Linked DNA regions of Homo sapiens: region 1 is linked to region 2. Evidence: promoter capture Hi-C in human tissues and cell types (Jung and others, 2019). All regions are on one chromosome and are shown on one strand. The core of a region is centred on a gene start or on the middle of the fragment in contact, and the rest is flanking DNA. Distances in the headings are between cores, read along the strand shown.

The links. Contacts are between HindIII fragments. The study calls those that stand out against the background at their distance.
Region 1: a fragment that was not itself captured here is called in contact with the fragment with the promoter of IER3IP1 in region 2 in 1 of the 25 tissues and cell types used here (hippocampus).

Annotation. Positions count from the first base shown.
Region 1 is chr18:48,244,045-48,247,442 of GRCh38, forward strand. The region is part of intron 2 of ZBTB7C (zinc finger and BTB domain containing 7C); the gene reads right to left. Among named protein-coding and RNA genes, the nearest start is that of ZBTB7C-AS2, 6.6 kb to the right of the region's middle. The HindIII fragment of the contact is 4,276 bases long and covers 1-3,398 here.
Region 2 is chr18:47,174,641-47,177,709 of GRCh38, forward strand. It overlaps IER3IP1 (immediate early response 3 interacting protein 1), which reads right to left and starts at 1,724. Exons shown (of 3, transcript NM_016097.5): 1 at 1,547-1,724. The coding sequence starts at 1,637. RefSeq lists enhancers at 1,633-1,752, 1,763-1,892. The HindIII fragment of the contact is 11,428 bases long and covers 1-3,069 here.

The DNA of each region.
Region 1 (3,398 bases), core at 227-2,726, 1.1 Mb after region 2:
AATCTAAGACTCAAAACTGTAAAAATTCTAGAAGATAACATCACAAAAACTCTTCCAGACATTGGCTTAGGCACAGAGTTCATGACCAAGAACCCAAAAACAAATGCAACAAAAACAAGAATAAATAGAAGGAGGCCAAGGTGGGTGGATCACGAGGTCAGGAGATCGAGACCACTCTGGCTAACATGGTGAAACCCCATCTCTACTAAAAATACAAAAAATTAGCCAGGTGTGGTGGCAGGTGCCTGTAGTCCCAGCTACTCGGGAGGCTGAGGCAGAAGAATGGTGTGAACCCAGGAGGTGGAGCTTGCAGTGAGCAGAGATTGCGCCACTGCACTCCAGCCTGGGCGACAGAGTGAGACTCCATCTCAAATAAATAAATAAATAAATATAGATGGGACTTAATTAAACTAAAAAGCATCTGCACAACAAAAGAAATAATCAGAAGAGTAAACAGACAACCCACAGAGTGGGAGAAAATATTTGCAAACTATGCATCCAACAAAGGACTACTATCCAGAATCTACAAGGAATTTAAATAAATCAGCAAGAAAAAAGCAATTAATCCCATCAAAAAGTGGGCTAAGGAAATGAATAGATAATTCTCAAAAGAAGATATACAAACAGCAAACAAACATGAAAAATACTCAACATCACTAATTATAGGGAAATGCAAATCAAAACTATGATGCAATACCACCTTACTCCTACAAGAAGGGCCATAATTTAAAAAATCAAAAAATAATAGATGTTGATGTGGATGTGGTGAAAAGGAACATCTTTACACTGCTGGTGGGAATGTAAACTATTAATACTACAACCACTATGGAAAACAGTGTGGAGATTCCTTAAAAAACTAAAAGTAGATCTACCATCTGATCCAGCAATCCCGCTACTGAGTATCTACTCAGAGGAAAAGAAGTCATTATATGAAAAAGACACTTCTACATGCATGTTTATAGCAGCACAATTCACAATTGCAAAAATACGGAACCAACCCAAATGCCCATCAATCAACAAGTGGAAAAAAAAGTAGTGTGTGTGTGTGTATATATATATACACACACACACACACACACCATGGAATACTATTCAGCCAAAAAAAGGAATTCAATAATGGCATTCACAGCAACCTGGATGGAGCTGGAGACCATTATTGTAAGTGAAGTAACTCAGGAATGGAAAACAAAACATTCTATGTCCTCACTTATAAGTGGAAGCTAAGCTATGAGGATGCAAAGGCATAAGAATGATACAATGGACTCTGGGGACTTGGGAAGGGTGGGAGGGGAGTGAGGGATAAAAGACTACACATTGGGTACAGTGTACACTGCTCAGGTGATGGGTGCACCAAAATCTCAGAAATCACCACTAAAGATCTTATCCATGTAACCAAACAACACTTGTTCCCCTAAAAACCTATTGAAATAAAAAAATAGATCAAGACACCAAAAAAAAAAAAAGAAAAAATGAATTTTCTATGGTATATACGCTCAAGAGTAAAAACATATTTTTTAAGGAATAGAGGAAAAGAAGAAGAAAGTATCTCAAGCATCTTTTTTTCATAAAGTTATTGGAGAATGCGCTCCATCAAAACAAGGGGGCAAACCAAGAAAGGAACAATTTTAGATTCAGGAAACAGGACATCCAAACAGAAGAGAGGATGGGGGAATTCCTAGAATGCTAGAGCCGGTTGAGCCCAGGTTGAGAGCTGTGCTCCAGAAAGCAATCAGACAAAAATGGTCAAAGTATCCAGAGAGATTTCAACAAGGAGATGAAACTGACAGATTGCCTGATGTATTTGAAAGGATTAGGAAGGTATTTATCCAATTAAAGAATGTTGGGGATGGAATTATTAATAAATATATAGAAAACTAAGCATCAGACATACAAACAAAAACAATTATTAATTCCAGAAAACAAAAATTGTGCCTAAATGGAATCATATAGCTCAGGTGTAACTGAAGTACATTTTCACTATAATATACTGTAAATACTAAATTTGGATCTAATCACAATTATGGTATAAAGAGGGAATATGGGAGTGTGTTTCTAGTGTGAATATGGGGTAAAGGGAGCTAAACAGTCATCTTCCATAGCAGGAAGTCAGTTAATAATAAAGCTTAGGCCGGGCGCGGTGGCTCACACCTGTAATCTCAGCACTTTGGGAGGCTGAGGCGGGTGGATCACAAGGTCAGGAGATGGAGATCATCCTGGCTAACACAAATACAAAACGTTAGCCGGGCGTGGTGGCGGGTGCCTGTAGTCCCAGCTACTTGGGAGGCTAAGGCAGGAGAATGGCGTGGACCCGGGAGGCGGAGCTTGCAGTGAGCTGAGATCACACCACTGCACTCCAGCCTGGGCAAGAGAGCGAGACTCTGTCTCAAAAAAAAATAAATAATAAAATAATAATAATAATAATAAAGCTTAAAATAGAAAAATGACAAATAATTGTATACACCTGTTACTTAAAGAAAATGGAAATAAAAAAACACACTTTTTTTCTAAGAAAAAATGTAGTTGTCTCTCGCAAATGGAAAATGAGGTAGGATGGGAAAAGGACTGCTATTTTCTGTAATAACTTTAATTAAACTCTCTGATTCTTTAAATTATAGGCATATCCTGTTAAACTAAATATGTTAGTTTTTAACATATCCTGTTAAAAACTAAAACTTAAAAGGATGAGACACCATATCGTACTTGAGGTTGTGATGCTGGCGAAATCATCATCAGGTGCTTTGACACCCCCCATCCCATGCCCCCAACAACCACCACATGCACACACACCCTGGCCTCTGCCCCACAGCTCTCTGGACCACAGTCAGGGCAGGACCAAGTCAGGGATAGAGGGGGCTAGACTGAGCGGACCATGAGCACAGATAGGTCATAGAAGAATAGCAGTGTATTCAATGATATATACACTAAAATTATACCATGACAAAGTGGGATTACCCCAGGGTTGCAAGCAAGTGTTGCCTCATATAAGGGGTTCTATTAATATGCTACACCACATCAAGACGCTAAGCAGGAAAAGCATCTTATAATTTTAGTGCATACTTGACAGGTATTTTATAGAAATCAACAATCATTCCTAATAAAAATTTCAGAACTAGAATTAAAAAGAATTCCGGTTAACAGCATAGAGCATCCATATTTAAATTAGCAATAATTCCTCTACATTCAGAATATATAAAGATGCCTACTATTATCATTGTCATTGAAATCATTCATAAAAATATTATTATTTAACATTGTCTGGAAAGTTTTTAAAAACAACGACAGAAAAGATAAAGACACCCCAATGGAAATAAATACTGAAAAAGAAGAGACAAAAATATCTCCTGTATATGATGTGATTACATACCTGGAGAGTTAAATCAGCCAAAATGATTCAAATA
Region 2 (3,069 bases), core at 474-2,973:
CCGGGGGGACAGGGTGAGACTCCGTCTCAAAAAAAAAAAAAAATGGGTCTTCCCACATCCACTGCTTTCCCTTCCAATCTTTCCTCCGTATTGTAGCCTCAAGGATCTTGCAAATAACACAAATCTGGTCATGTCGCTGTCTTAAGACCCTCTTCTCACCTGCCTCAGTTTTCACACCAGGTCTACACTGCTTAAAGCTCTCCTCACCCTTCCAGCTCCTCCCAACCCTTCACCTTCACCGAGTTAATGTTTACTCATGTATCAGATTTCAGGTTAGACACGCTTCCTCCAAGAAGCTTTCGCAGATACACAAGTTAGTATCTGCCCGTACTTCTCTTACATAATACTCTCTATACTTGTTATTGTCATTTGTTTAGTTTTTATTTAGATTAACTTCCATCAGAAGGGCAGAGTAGCTGCTGTAACTTCAGTTACTATAAATGGGCCTGGCACATACTTTGCACTCAATAAATATCTTCTGAAGTAAATGAAATGAATCAATCTTGCTCCTGGGTTTACGTTTCAGTGATTCAAACGGGCATACTTGGTACACAACGTGAGGTCCTGGAAGGTATAACTTGTGTTTTCATTTTTGAATTTCTAAATTCTAGCAGAGTTTTTGGCACACTCTATGCACCCAATAAGCTATCTGAATAAACTTTTCTTGGAACATGAGTGTCTGAATGTCCTGATAACTCCAACACGTTCCCTTCCTGTAATTCCTAAAGCCCAGGAACACTTATTGCCTTCCATCAGTTAGTGAACTACTGATGCTCCAAAATGGGTCACGCCTCCTTCCCCTCCACACCCAACTCGTTTTGTTTTGTTTGTTTTGTTTTGTTAGACGGAGTCTCACTCTATTGCCCAGGCTGGAGTGCAATGGCGCAATCTCGGCTCACTGCAACCTCTGCCTCCCAGGTTTAAGTGATTCTCCTGCCTCAGCCTCCCGCCCGGCTAATTTTTGTATTTCCACCACCACGTCCGGCTAATCTTTGTATTTTTAGTAGAGACGGGGTTTTACCATGTTGGCCAGGCTGGTCCCAAACTCCTGACATCATGATCCGCCGGCCTCGGCCTGCCAAAGTGCTGGGATTACAGGCGGGAGCCACCGCGCCCGGCCCCACACCCCCAACTCTTAGCCCGAAACTCAGACCCCGGGTTTTCGACTATTAAAAGTAGTCACAGGACCGCGACACTGCACTTCAGCCTGGGCAAAAGAGCGAGACTCCCCCTCAAAAAAAAAAGTAGTCACAGAAAACTGAATTAAATTACTGACCTGAAGTAATCGCAAGCAGAGGCGTCCCTGACTGACTTCTATATCCCTCCACCCCAACCCCCTGGGCCCTGCACAGCGGGTGTCTGTTGAATATTCTCCCGGCTGTTGAGCCCAAACCTGATGAGAGGAAAGGCTCGGCTTCCACTCCAAGCCGAGCCTTCCGCTGTTCTTCTGTCCCGGCCCTTGGTGTCCCCTCACGCGGCCCCATTAGGTTACGCGCCCCCGGGGACTCCGCCGCCGCCCCAGCCCGCGCCCCGCGGTCCCACTCACTGTTCTTGAGGAATCGCTCCTCGTGCAGCACTGCGATGGCGTTGACGCAGAGCAGGGCTGCCTGCAGCAGTGAGTACAGGGTAAAGGCCATGGCCGTCCGAGGCCGCCCCGAAGTCCAAGCGATTTCTCTCCCGCCGCCGCAAGGGACGTGGCGCCTCCACGGCCGGCGCCTTCCTACGGAAGCCGATGGGGCCCAAAACGAACTCTCCGGGAAGCCCCGCCTCCATCTGGCTAAGAACCGCCCCTCGCTGAAGACTGCAAGTCCTGCCGCTTGTCTAGACCGGTGATGTGCAATCAATGCTCTGATGTGGCCAGTGCTGCAGGTGCAAAATACACACCGGATTTCACACACTTGGAACTGGAACAAGGATGAAGAATATCCCAATAATTTTTTTTTTTTTGAGATGGAGTCTGGCCCTGTCGCCCAAACTGGAGTGCAGTGGCACGATCTCGGCTCACTGCAAGCTCCGACTCCCGGGTTCACGCCATTCTCCTGCCTCAGCCTCCCAAGTAGCTGGGACTACAGGTGCCCGCCACCACGCCCGGCTAATTTTTTGTATTTTTAGTAGAGACGGGGTTTCACCGTGTTAGCCAGGATGGTCTCAATCTCCTGACCTCGTGATTCCCCCCTCCTCGGCCTCCCAATAATTTTTAAATGTTGATAACATGTTGAAATGAAAATATTTTGAGGCCGGGCGCAGTGGCTCACGCCTGTAATTCTAGCACTTTGGGAAACCGAGGCGGGCAAATCACCTAAGGTCAAGAGTTCGAGACCAGTCTGGCCAACATGGCAAAACCCTGTCTCTACTGAAAATACAAAAATTAGCTGGGTGTGATGGTGGGCTCCTGTAATCCCAGCTACTCAGGAGGCTGAGAGAAGAGAATCACTTGAACCCGGGAGGCAGAGACTGCAGTGAGCCGAGATCCAGCCTGGGTGACAGAGCAAGAGGAAAGAAGGAAGGAAGGGAGGAAGGTTTCTTGTTTATTTTTAATTATTTTATTTAATGTGGTTATGAAGATACTGTAAATGACATGTGACGCTTGCATTATATTTCTATTGCTCAGTACTGCACTTGATGCTCCCAGGAGATACAGGAGATACTAATATTCCCATTTCAGATTTCAGAATGCTAAAACAAAATAACTGTTTTAAAATTACTCAGTGAGAAACATCCCCTCCTTGACCAAACTCCAACCAAGATCCTCTGAGCCTCTTCTTTTTTTTTTTCCCCCCCCAGGAACAGGGTCTTGCTCTGTTGCCCAGGCTGGAGTGCAGTGGCACCATCATAGCTCAATGCAGCCTTCAGCTCCTGGCTCGAGCAGTCCTCCTGCCTTAGCCTCCTGCTTAGCTGTATGTGATGGTTAAGACTGAGTGTCAACTTGATTGGATTGAAGGATGCAAAGTATTGATCCTGGGTGTGTCTGTGAGGGTGTTGCCAAAGGAGATTAACATTTGAGTCAGTGGGCTGGGAAAGACAGGTCCACTCTTAATCCAAGTGGGCACCATCTAATCAGCTGCTGGA